2 separate regions of the Homo sapiens genome follow, and region 2 is linked to region 1. The links are contacts of gene promoters, found by promoter capture Hi-C in blood cells and fetal thymus (Javierre and others, 2016). All regions are on one chromosome and are shown on one strand. Each heading gives the region's core, a stretch centred on a gene start or on the middle of the fragment in contact. The rest is flanking DNA. Distances are from core to core; before and after follow the strand shown. Region 1 holds the start of MRAP2 (melanocortin 2 receptor accessory protein 2). Region 2 overlaps RIPPLY2-CYB5R4 (RIPPLY2-CYB5R4 readthrough).

What was found. The method cuts DNA at HindIII sites, captures the fragments that hold promoters and counts their contacts. A CHiCAGO score of 5 or more calls a contact.
Region 2: a contact is called between a fragment that was not itself captured here and the fragment with the promoter of MRAP2 in region 1, in 1 of 17 cell types (erythroblasts). The highest score is 5.1, in erythroblasts.

Annotation. Positions count from the first base shown.
Region 1 is chr6:84,031,444-84,038,009 of GRCh38, reverse strand. MRAP2 (melanocortin 2 receptor accessory protein 2) reads right to left here and starts at 4,238. Exons shown (of 4, transcript NM_138409.4): 1 at 4,127-4,238. The HindIII fragment of the contact is 7,640 bases long and covers 3,307-6,566 here.
Region 2 is chr6:83,886,919-83,893,484 of GRCh38, reverse strand. The region is part of intron 4 of RIPPLY2-CYB5R4 (RIPPLY2-CYB5R4 readthrough); the gene reads right to left. The region is part of intron 2 of CYB5R4 (cytochrome b5 reductase 4); the gene reads right to left. Among named protein-coding and RNA genes, the nearest start is that of CYB5R4, 31 kb to the right of the region's middle. The HindIII fragment of the contact is 155 bases long and covers 4,008-4,162 here.

The sequences.
Region 1 (6,566 bases), core at 2,989-5,488:
CCTCAAATGGCCCCACTGAGAGGTGACAACATGCTAGCAGCCCTCGCTCACTCTCAGCACCTCCTCAGCAGTGTCTGCTCCGGCCATGCTTGAGGAGTCCTTCAGCACACCGCTGCACTGTGGGAGCCCCTCTCTGGGCTGGCCGAGGCTGGAGCTGGCTCCCTCTGCTTGCGGGGAGGTGTGGAGGGAGAGAGAGGGGCAGGAACCCGGGCTGGCCAGCGTGAGTTCTAGGTGGGCGCAGACTCAGTGGGCCCCACCAGCCCTGGGCAGTGAGGGGCTTAGCACCCAGGCCAGCAGCTGCAGAGGGGGCGCCAGGTCCCCCAGCACTGCCAGCCTGCCTGCGCCGCACTCAAATTCTCACCGGGCCTCAGCCGCCTCCCTGTGGGGCAGAGCTCAGGACCTGCAGCCCGCCATGCCAGAGCCCAGCCCCCCACCCCGTGGTGGGCTCCCGCACTGCCCGAGCCTCCCCAACGGGCGCCGCCCCCTGCTCCATGGCGCCTGGTCCCATCAACCGCCCAAGGGCTGAGGAGTGCAGGCTTGTGGCATGGGACTGGTGGGCAGCTCCGCCCATGGCCCTGGCGTGGGATCCACTAGGCAAAGCCAGCTGGGCTCCTGAATCAGGTGGGGACTTGGAGAACTTTTATGTCTAGTTGGAGGATTGTATATGCACCAATCAGCACTCTGTGTCTAGCTCGGGGTTCGTGGATGCACCAATCAGCACTCTGTATCTAGCTAATCTGGTGGGGACTTGGAGAACTTTTATGTCTAGCTAAAGGATTGTAAACACACCAGTCAGCACTCTGTGTCTAGCTCAAGGTTTGTAATCACACCAATCAACACTCTGTGTCTAGCTCAAGGTTTGTAAACGCAACAATCAGTGCTCTGTGTCTAGCTAATCTAGTGGGGACTTAGAGAACTTTTATGTCTAGCTGGAGGATTGTAAATACACCAATCAGCACTCTTTGTCTAGCTCGGGGTTCTTGGATGCACCAATCAGCCCTCTGTGTCTAGCTCAAGGTTTGTAAATGCACCAATCAGCACCCTGTGTCTAGCTCAAAGTTTGTAAATGCACCAATCAGTGCTCTGTGTCTAGTTAATCTAGTGGGGACTTGGAGAACTTTTTTGTCTAGCTGGAGGATTGTAAATACACCAATCAGCACTCTGTGTCTAGCTCAGGGATTGTAAATGCACTAATCAGCACCCTGTCAAAACGGACCAATCAGCTCTCTGTGAAACAGACCAATCAGTTCTCTGTAAAGTAGACCAATCAGCAGGATGTGGGTGGGGTCAGATAAAGGAATAAAAGCAGGCTACTGGAGCCAGCAGTGGTAAGGCGCTCAGGTCCCCTTCCACACTGTGGAAGCTTTGGTCTTTCCCTCTTTGCAATAAATCTTGCTGCTGCTCACTCTTTGGGTCTGCACTGCCTTTATGAGCTGTAACACTCACCGTGAAGGTCTGCAGCTTCACTCCTGAAGCCAGCGAGACCACAAACCCACCAGAAGGAAGAAACTCCAAACACGTCCGAACATCAGAAGGAGCAAACTCAGAACACACCATCTTTAAGAACTGTTAACACTCACCGCAAGGGTCCGTGGCTTCATTCTTGAAGTCAGTGAGACCAAGAACCCACCAATTTCAGATACACCATCACTAGCTTTGGGATGAAGGAAGTAAATCTATTCAACAAGGCCTCCTTGCTCAACCCTCATATTATTTTTCATTTTGTTTATTAAAACATTTCTTCATATTCCTTTGCATGATGAACCCTCATACTCTTGAAGTAACCAGTGGGTTCAAGAGTTATGGAGAGGTTCTCATATATCTACCTTGATATTTCATTTAGGAAAAAAAGCCAAAATGAGAAAAATTTAAAAAAAAAAAAAGACTAGACAGAAAATGACACAATGAGGCATTATCTGGTAATCTTCCAAATATCATAGCTTGGTATAATAATAGTTCCTTAAATATATTACACAAACATCATAAGAATATTGTTCTTCCAATATTTTTTGTACTCCAAGTAATGAAAACATTTCCCTTGAAAGCTAAAAAGGACAGATGTGATATTCTCTTTATACAATTTGAACTAATTTAATATGTTTGATAAAAGTTATCTATGAACTGTGACTATCAAAAAAGGTCACAGATAAATAATTCAGAGATGAATTCTGATTGGCAAAATACCTCAGCATCTGGGGGCCAACAGAAATGGGGAGGAGGAAGCGAACAGCTTTCCAGAATATGTTGATGACATAATCTGCAAGGTAAAAGAAGATGACCCCCACTGTGACCAGAATGGGGCTAGCTCAGAAGGCTGAAAGGGGGCAGCTAGCGATGGGTATGAACACTCACGCAGAGGCAGCAGGATCAGCAACACAGAACAGGACACATGCATCACCAGCGCGCGCTTCACAAAACAGTACTTTCCCTTGCTCCTGCAATGCACTCTGATATCTTATCTTTCTTTCTCTTGGCTTTCATGTTTTAAAAACTGCTATTTGCAACTCACTAAACTGATCATTAGCCTAATGAGTCACAGCCCACATTTGAAGACAATGGATACAGCATACCCTGATCTATATCCCAGTAGATTGCTAGAAAAGGGAAGGGAGTTGGTTTGGCGTAAGTATTTGTAAATGCTTCCCTAGGTAGTTTTGAGCTATCTTAAAGAATTTGTTCTAGAATGTTGCCAGGATTCAATGTTTCCCTCTTTTAAAAAGTCTCCTGGGTCCATTCTCATCTCTCATACCTGCACAAAGATGACTGTAACCGCTTTCACTACTCTAGGACGTCTGCCATTTGGGTTTTGAACAATCCAGTCCAGTTTCGGGCTTCGAGACCCTCTTTAAAGGGTTTAGGCTGGCCTCACTTTGAAAAGAAAGATACAGACTGGAAGCAACTCTTCCTTTTCCTATCACCTGTTAATATTATCTATTCTTCCATAAACACTGGATGATCTTCCTCATAAGAACGAAACTCCTTGTGGGTACCCCAGCTCACAGTGGCCTCTGGCTTTCCTGACCTTATCCTTGCAGGCCCTCGTCACTCTCCTGCACCTGTTCTTGTCTGTGTACCCCATGCAATGTACCTAAAGGAAACTAGACTCACAGTCCTAGCTTCCAGACCCCTACTCCCCACTATTACTTAACTGGGGCAGTCACCTTGGAAAACGTATTTAATATCGCAATCTAATTTTCTCTACCTGCAAACTGAAAATACTACTGTTTACTTTTGGGGTTTTCGTAAGAATTAATTTATGCATAAGAGTTCCCTTCTCTCGTCTCCCTGGACACATTCCCTCAAGCTTCCTTTGCCTTCAAAACACCAGAGTGTTTCACTGTTGTCAAACTAAATGCAGAGTAGTGGCTGAGATTCTGTGCCATCTAACATGCTGTGGAAACCACAACGCCTCCAAACAGGTTTCTGCAGAGACTACTCTTTGCCTTCCTCAATTAATTACACAGAAAGGATGGGAAAGGCACGGGGCACGGGGCGCGGGGCGGGCGGGGGGAGCGGGGGCGGGTTGCGGGGTGGGGCGGCGGGGAAAGTGTAAAACCCCTATTTCCCTCTAATCAGTAACACGACCTGCGAGCAGGCTCCCCAGTCCAAACAAAATGAATGAGCAACTGTCAAGCCAGGCATCATCTGAGAACCCTGCCCAGTGCATGGAGGCGCGCCCGGGGCCAGGAGCCAGCACATTTCCCCAGCCCAGGGGGGCTCTCTCAGTTGCAGGGCACCAAGGCGGCAGGAGGGCCGCAGCAAGGAAAGTTTTCTCACCAGCGGGAAAGGGTGTGCCTCGGCCGCTGGGGCCCAGCGGAGGGGAGGAAGCCCACCCAAGCCCCGAGCGCCGCCGCTTCCAGGCTTTTCGGACGCCCAGCGGCGTCCACACGCACATCAGCGGGCTGCCGGGAAGGTTTTAAACTTGGTGCTCTCCACGGGGTCCACACTCTTCCCGTGGGCGTCCTCACACCCCAATTCTCCTCCTCCCACCCCATTCTCTAGCCCCTCTAAACTAAAGACTGCCCCCAAACCCAAGCAAGCCCTGCCTTGACCAAAGCTGCACGCGCCCCGCACCCAGCGCCCGGGCTTTGCTCCGCCCTGGGCGCCCTGTCCCGCCCGTGGTTACCGGCTGGCTAGCCCCGGCCCGCGGGCTCGGCCCTGGTTCCGGCTCCTGGCTCCTCCGAGGTGCGCGAGCGCCGCCGCCGCCGCCGCCTCCCACCGCCCAGGGCCGGGCGAGTAGCTCCTAGATCCGAGGTGCGGCGGAGACGCGCGCTCCCGACCCGCAGCGGAGGCGGCGCGGGGCGCCGGAGCAGGGCTGCAGCGCGGGAGCCGCCTCCCCAGCGCGAGAGCCGCCTCCCCAGCGCGAGGCCGCCTTGGCCAAGAGGAGGTGAGCTTTGCAGATCCCTTTCCTGCTCACTTTGCCCCTCCGAGTCCGGGTCAGAGCCTGAGTCAGAGAATTCTTTGCCATCCCGGGCTCTGCAGTGGGTCCCTCGGGTCAACTTTGGGTAACAGGAGGAGCTCATTAGCTGAGCAAGAGGGAGTGGGGTATCATGAATCAAGGCTTATGAAAAATCGGCAGCATTGAGTTCAAGTTCAGTAAGGCCAGAGCCCCCCCATAATGTGCTGCTTAAATTACTACCTCGATTTTAGTTTCTCTTCCTGCCCACTGGTCCAGGTGTCAAAGGGCAGTCAGACGTTCAAACGGGGTCCCAAAGGGCTAGCACTGGGCCGGGAGTAGTTTCAGCATAGCAGGGCTGGCTCATCTCTTCCTCCCTTGAGTCCTTATTGCATGCCAGGCATTGATCTGGGAATACAGGTGCTTGGTGCTTGCATTCTACTAAAGAGACAGGCATAAACATAACAAATAACTAAAATACATAGTATGTGAGATAGTGATGAAGTGCGGTGGACAAAAAAGAAGGGAGGAAATGGGATAATGTTTGGAGGTAGGGGGTGCATTTTTAAATGGGATGGTCAAAGATGGCTTCACAGTGGAGTAAAGATCTAAAGGAGATGAGACAGAAAGAAGTCACGCTGGTATCTGGAGAGAAAGCACTTGCTGTGTGGCAGGCACTGAGATGTTCTTTACTGCACTAGTCATTTCTTTTACTACTCTCCATATGCCATATTAGACAGGTATTGCCACCATTTCCATTTTACTGATGAGAAACTGTAACTTAGGAAGGTTAAAGGAACTGCCCAAGGTCATATGCTAGTCAATAGAGGAGCTTGCCTTCAAGGTCAGGAAGCCTGGTGCCCCAGAACCATAGTTTAACCACCATTATACAGCAGCAGGGGAAATGCAGCACCCATGCAGGCTGGTGGCAGTGTGATGAACTCAAGCTGGTGGTGCCAAAAGAGGATTCCTGGAAATGACATCTCATCACTGATTTTTTTTTAAAAGCTCAGTTTCATTACCACTTGTAAAATGAAATATTTTGAACACCATTTTTCTTCTTCTTCTTTTTTTTAATTTTAAGTTCTGGGATACATGTGCAGAATGTACAGATTTGTTACATAGGTATACATGTGCCAGCGTGGTTTGCTGCATTTATCAACTTGTCATCTAGGTTTTAAGCCCCGCTTGCATTAGGTATTTGTCCTAATGCTCTTCCTCTCCTTGCCGCCCACCCCCGACAGGCCCCGGTGTATGATGTTCCCCTCCCTGTGTCCATGTGTTCTCACTGTTCAACTCCCACTTATGAGTGAGAACATGCTCATTTGGTTTTCTGTTCCTGTGTTAGTTTGCTGAGAATGGTGGTTTCCAGCTTCATCCATGTCCCTGCAAAGGACACAAACTCATCCTTTTTTATGGCTGCATAGTATTCTATGGTGTATGTGTGCCACATTTTCTTTATCCATTCTATCATTGATGGGCATTTGGAGTGAACAGGCAACCTACAGAATGGGAGAAAATTTTTGCAATCTATCCATCTGACAAAGGTCTAATATCCAGAATGTACAAGCAACTTAAACAAATTTACAAGAAGAAAACAACCCCATCAAAAAGTGGGCAAAGGATATGAACAGATACTTCTCAAAAGAAGACATTTATGCAGCCAACAAACATATGGAAAAAAGCTCATCATCACTGGTCATTAGAGAAAACCATCTTTATAGTGTGTGTATGTATCTTCTGCCTCATCCACAAGCAGTTTGATTCTAAATAACATAATTTGACAATCTGTGATAAGATTTATTAATCATTCCCCAAGTGTCCACACCAGTTCCAGTTGCTCATTCCTATTCACAGGGATGTGATTCCTCACCCCTGCAGTAGAGCCTCTGCCAAGTGTCTTCAGGGCATTGTGAAAAAGAGTGACAAAACTGCTGCTTCTGAGGGGCTACGGTGTGAACAGGCCAATTTCTGCCTTAGCTGTCGGCATCAGGTGGCCTTGTTCTGGGCAGAGCATCAATGGCTCCAGACAGAAAACCAGGGCACATTGTACTTTGTGAAAAAGGCAGGTCACTAACCCTTGGTTTCAGAAGCTGAAACTGCAGCATCTGGTGAAACAATGACATCAATAGGATGGCCAAGCCCACATTTCTCTCCTAGATATCTCCAC
Region 2 (6,566 bases), core at 2,836-5,335, 140 kb after region 1:
CTTCTCAAAAATTGTAAAACTTATAAATATAAGTTTCAATAAATCTTTCCAAATACATTCCATTTAATTAATCACTGTTATTTCAAAGTATCAAGAACTAACTGTAAAGGATCTGAGATTTCATCACACTTGCAAGCAAACAACTTAACCTGCCACTTTCATGGGTCCTGGCAGATAACAAGAGACTCCTAGGTCAGAGACAAAGAAGAGTTTAGCACTCACATCAATAGCAGTAGTCAGAATATAAACATTTGTGTCAGTTCACTGAACTCTAATTCACTAGAGTGCTATGTGAAGAGGGCCAGGTAACACCTGTACACTTAATGCGCTGCATTACAGAAGAGGAACTCTGAGCTCAGGAAACTGGAATCTTTTATAAGCATGCCTGCCCTTGCTCCTGAGGGAGATATTTATTATACAGAAGAGTAAGCAAAGCTGTCCTTTCTTCTAGAGGGAGACACTAACATTCAAGGTTGTTCACAATGCAAATATCCTTTAAAAGACTGTACAAAAAGACAGTGCCTCTACTCTCAAGACATGCAAAAATGCAAAAGAAAATTGTCTCCCAACACAAAGAAATGAAATACTGTGTATATAATTTTTGAAAGTACACACACGCACACAGAGAGAGAGAGAGAGAGAGGAAGAGAGAGAGAGAAAGTGACTACTACAGACATAACATTTCCATATTGCCCTGGTAGAAGAATCTGATGAAAAAAGAATCAAGCTCTAATCCACGTCTCTGATCATCTCAGCAAAGGTTAAGCAATGGTGACCACTTAGGCACGCTCTGTGAAAAGGAAGCCCAACTATTCTCAAAGATTATTATTCAGAATTTAATCATTTTGTCTTCTCCAAATATTTCTTTCATCTATTCAACTGTTATTTATTTTTATCTTTTAAGAAAGGAATAGGGAACAACAAACACAAAATATCTCAATGCACAGCTCTCCCAAGGAAGTAAGTTGCTTTTTCATTCTTGAAAACTAGATAGATACCAGACAAATCTAGCCCTAAAGACATCACGAAAGTGCAATAACAACGACTGGTTTTTTTTAAATATCCAGGACTATTTCCTCTTTATATGATGACTTCCATGAATTTAAATAACCTCAGATAACTTAAAATGTTCATCCTATATAATAATCTTGGAAGAAAAGAAGAGGTTGGATTTCAGACCCAAGAAAAGTACTGCAGTTTTTTGACCAGCTATATATTAGAAAATAACCAACCAGTCCAGCTTTATAAAGTCTCTTAAAGGTAAGCACAAAAGGAAGTAAATTCACAGAATTTCTTTCAGCAGCATTCCAAATAAGTCTGAACAAAACTAGTTAAGTTCCCTCTTTTTTCCTTCCCCATATGCCTAGAGTCCCACAAGATTTAGAAGAATTTTTTCCCATTGTTTAATGCTCCAAAATCCAGAGACCAAAAACGTGAGTGGTAATGATTAGGATCAGAATTACTCCCAATAGGCTTTTTTAAGACAGAGGATGCCTCCCAAACAAGAGTTCCAAACTTTCTCTACAATCAAGTCCTGACTGGAGTTCTACAGTTTCTCAAGAACAAGAAATCTACAACCCATGATCATTTGTGATGGAATTCCACGAGTTTCAGCAACCAGCTCTTCTGGTAGCTTAAATAGCTATCCATGATGAGCACATAAAGCCTAAAACATTCCATACATGTTCTCTGCTAACCTGCTAGCCCTTTACATTGACCCTTATACTGTCACAATCTTATCTTTCTTTCTGATAGGGGCTAGGATCACTCCGTGGACGTGAGTAGTATCCCATGCTTTCCAGACGAAAAAAACTAGGAATGTCTATCCCTTACCACAAGGAATTAACACTGTTAAATAGTGTCTCAGTCCAAGATGCTTTAGATCAAAAAGCACTTGGCTGTGTTAGTAATTTGCTAATTATGAAACTTAAACCTAGCCCCAAAACAGAACAGGTGCATTTCTTCTGATTCAGAGGCTCTTCTTTGCTCTTTCTCTCCTTCCTTATCTCCCTTTTTTTCCTTCTCAAAAGTATTTCTGAACAACTAAAAACTTGGACCCCTGGATGTGGCAGAGAAATACAAACATAAAAAAACAAACTTTATGCTTTTTCTTCGTGCTTTATTATACAGGTGTACCTCAGAGATATTGCAGGTTTGGTTCCAGACCACTGCAGTAAAGCAAATAAAGCAAGTCACACTAATGTTTTGGTTTCCCAGTGCATATGAAAGTTATGTTTAGGCCAGGCATGGCGGCTTATGCCTGTAATCCCAGTAGCTTGGGAGGCCGAGGCAGGAGGATTGCTTCATGCTAGGAGTTCAAGACCAGTCTGGGCAACATAGTGAGATCCTGTCTCTACAAAAAAACCCTAAAAATTAGCCAGGCATGGTGGAGTGTGCCTGTAGTCCCCCTGCTACTTGGGAGGCTGAGGTGGGCGGATCGCTTGAACACAGAAGTTTGAGGCTGCAGTGAGCCATGATCATGCCACTGCACTCCAGCCAGAAAAAACAGTGAGGCCCTGTCTCTAAAATAAATAACAGTTATGTTTACGCTATATTGTTGTCTATTAAGTGTGCAATAACATTATGTCTAAGACAATAATGTACATACCTTTATTAAATATACTTTCATAAAAATGCTAATATCATCTGAGCCTTAACTGAGTTAAACGTTTTGCTGGTGAAGTGTCTTGCCTTGATGTTGATGGTTGCTGACTGATCAGCATGTTGGGTGCTTAAGGCTGAGGTGGCGGTGACAATTTCTTAAAATAAGTTGACAGTAAAGTTTGCCCTTCAACTGACTCGACCTTTCATGAGAGATTTATCTGTAGCATGCCATGTTGTCTAACAGCATTTTACTCACAGTAGAACTGCTTCCAAAATTGATGTCAATCCTCTCAAACCCTGCTGTTGTTTTACGAACTAAGTGTATGTAATATTATAAATCCTTTGTTGTCATTTCAACAATGTTCACAGTATCTTCCACCAAGAGTAGATTCCATCTCAAGAACCACTCTCTTTGCTCATCCCTAAGAAGCTACTCTTCATCCATTCAAGTTTTATCACGCAGCAATTTCAGTCACATCTTTGGGTTCCACTTCTAATTCTAGTTTTCTAGCTGTTGTCACATCTACAGTGACTTCCTCCACTCAAGTCTTGAACCCTTCAAAGTTACCCATGAGGGCTGGAATCACCTTCTTCCAAACTCCTGTTAATGTTGATACTTTGTTCTCTCCTCATAATCACAAATGTTCTTAATGGCATCCAGAATGGTGAATCTTTTGCAGAAGATTTTCAATCTACTTTTCCCAGATCCATCAGAGGAATCACTATCTACAGCAGTCATAGCCTTATAAAATGTATTTCTTAAATAATAAAACTTGAAAATCAAGATGGCTCCTGGATTGATGGGCTGCAGGATGGATGCCGTGTTAGAAGGTGATATAGTTTGTATATCTGTCCCAGCCCAAATCTCATGTTGAATTGTAATCCTCAATGCTGGAGGTGGGGCCTGGTGGAAGTTGTCTGGATCATGGGGGCAGATCTCTCATGGCTTGGTGCTGTCTTCATGAGAGTTCTGAAGAATCTGGTCATTTAAAAGTGTGTGGCACCTCCACCCCTCCTCTTTCTTTTTCTTGCTTCTGCTTTTGCTATGTGATGTGCCTGCTCCTGCTTTGCCTTCTGTCATGAGTTAAAGCTCTCTAAGACTTCCCCAAGAAGCTGATGCCAGCACTGTTTCCTGTATAGCTTGCAGAACCATGAGCCAATTAAACCTCTTTTCTTTATATATTACCTAGTCTCAGTCTCAGGTATTTATTTACAGCAATGCAAGAACAGCTTAATAGAGAAGGCATGACGTACAGTGCTATCAGACCTCTTGGGTGACCAGTTGCATTGTCAATGAGTAGTAATTTGAAAAGAAACTTTTTTAAAGAGCAGTAGGTCTCAACATTGAGCTTAAAATATTCAGTAAACCATGCTATAAACACTGAGGTACTGTCATCCAAGCTTTGTTGTCCCATTTATAGAGCACAGGCAGGGCAGACTTAGCATAATTCTCTAGGGCCCTAGGATTCTTGGAATGGTAAATGGACACTGACTTCAAGTCACCAGCTGCATTAGGCCTTAACAAGAGAGTCAGACTGTCAGACTGTCCTTTGAAGCTTTGAAGCCAGGCATCCCCTCTCTAGCTGTGAAATTCCTACGTGGCATCTTTAGCCAATAGAAGACTATTTAATCTACATGGAAAATGTGTTGTTTCGTGTATTCAACTACATCACTGATCTTAGCTAGATCTTCTAGATAACTTGCTGCAGCTTCTACATCAGCATTTGATGCTTCACATTGCACTTTTAAGTTATGAAGGTGGCTTATTTCCTTAAACCTCATGAACCAACCTTTGCTAGTTTCTAACTTTTCTTCCACAGCTTCCTCACCTCTCTCAGCCTTCCTAGAATTGCAGACAGTTAGCATTCTGCTCTAAATCAGTTTTGGCTTAAGAGAATGTTGTGGCTGGTTTAATCTATCCACACCACTAAAGCTTTCTCCATATCACCAATAAGGTTGTTTTGCTTTCTTATATCATTCGTATGCTTACTGGGATAGCACTTTTAATTTCCTTCAATAACTTTTCCTTTGCATTCACAGCTTAGCTAACTGTGTGGCACTAGTGGCATAGCTTTCAGCATTTTTCAGCTTTCAACATGCCTTCCTCACTAAGCTTAATCGTTTCTAGTTTTTTATTTGAAGTGAGAGATATACAACATTTCCTTCACTTGGAACACTCAGAGGCCAATGTAGGGATATTAATTGTCCTAATCTCAATATTGTTGGGTCTCAGGGAATGGAGTGGCCCAAGAAGAAGGTGAGACAGGAATTGTCAGTCAGGGGAGTAGTGAGAACATATACATTTGTCCATTCAGTTTACCATCTCATATGGGCTCGATTTGTGGCACTCCAAAACTATTACAATAGTAACATCAAGATCACAGATCATCATAAGAGATACAATAATAATGAAAAAGTTTGCAAGAACTATCAAAATGTGACACAGAGACATGAAGTGAGCACATGCTCTTGGGAAAATGGTGCCAAAAAGTTGTTAGACACAGAGTTGCCACGAATCTTCAATTTGTAAAAAATCCATTACCTGCAAGGTACAATAAAGTGAAGCACAATAAAACAAGGTATGCCTGTACTCTATTTGTACTATATATGGCTTCTAGAAATAAAATCTCTCATGTGTAAGGTTCTAGCCTTCTATGAGTTCCACCTGGTTTTTAGAAACTAATTTTGAAACCATCTAAATTTTCCAGTGATGCAATTTTATTAAGTTATTCCCACATCTCTAATTGCTCTGGTCTGGCAGATCTGAGCATCCAATTACTCACTAAATATAAATAAATAATAATTATGGGCCAGCAGATATAATCTCAAATTGATACTAGGCTATTAGTGAGTTCTGCAAAACCTAAATCCTAATAATAATTAACAGCAAAAATGGGCTTAAACAGATTCATGAAACACCAATCCTCCATGGTGTAAAACTGGACTGTAAATAAGGACTCCTGGTCACAATCCAACTGGTATTTTTAGATCATTGACATGGGTGCTCTTCAGTGGCAAAGGGGGGATTTAGGGAGAATATCTATCTATCCATCCATCTACCCATCCATCCATCCATCTATCCATTCACCCACCCACCCATCCCCTCCTTTATGCTGATACTTTATTTTTGTGTGTGTTTTGTTTTTTAAACTCTAACCAGGAACAGACCCAAAAAAGGACTGACTGAGAACTGTTCAGAAGAGCCACTTATTAAAACTAAAATACAACGGTTGTATTAGGAAGGTATACTCCAATGTTTAAATAAATCATTTTTAAATGCCCTAGCAATATTAGGGGTACACTGTATAGCTAATTCATCATAGCAGAGAGGCAGCACAATTTAAAACACATATTCAGAACAATAACTACACTGAGTTTCTCTAGGCAATGTACTGGTAGTACCTGTTCTTAATATCTTTTCATACTAAATTACCTCTTTTGTGTTATATCTGGAATTCTGAGCTCTCAAACAAGTTCTCTGAATAAAAATTACCCATTTTAAAATTACCATTTAGTACTTTGTGTTGTCAGAAATGTAAACTTCAAAATCACAGAATGATAGTCTTAAAGACTAGGAGAACTTTAAGGCAATTTTTAGCCTCATCCAGCACAGGCTTTATCTCTATAATATCTTACAGACAAAGCATCATCCAGCATCTGCTTGAACAGATCCAGTGCCTAGTAGCTCACCACTTTTTTAAAAAGCTCAGTTCAAGGATATCATTTTTTTACCTAAAAACGAATATTGCCTTTTTATACAGAAAGAATTCTTTCTCTCTTGAAAGACACTGCCTATAGTTTTTCATTTGTGCATTTTATATTTATTTGTTTTCAATTTAACCCCAATTGCCTCTGATAAAGACTGTGGGCATCCTACAATAAAATATTTAAATTCAAGTTTGTGAAAGTCTGTGTGTAAAAACTTAAAAACCCACAACAAAATGTGTATTAGAAAAGAAAGT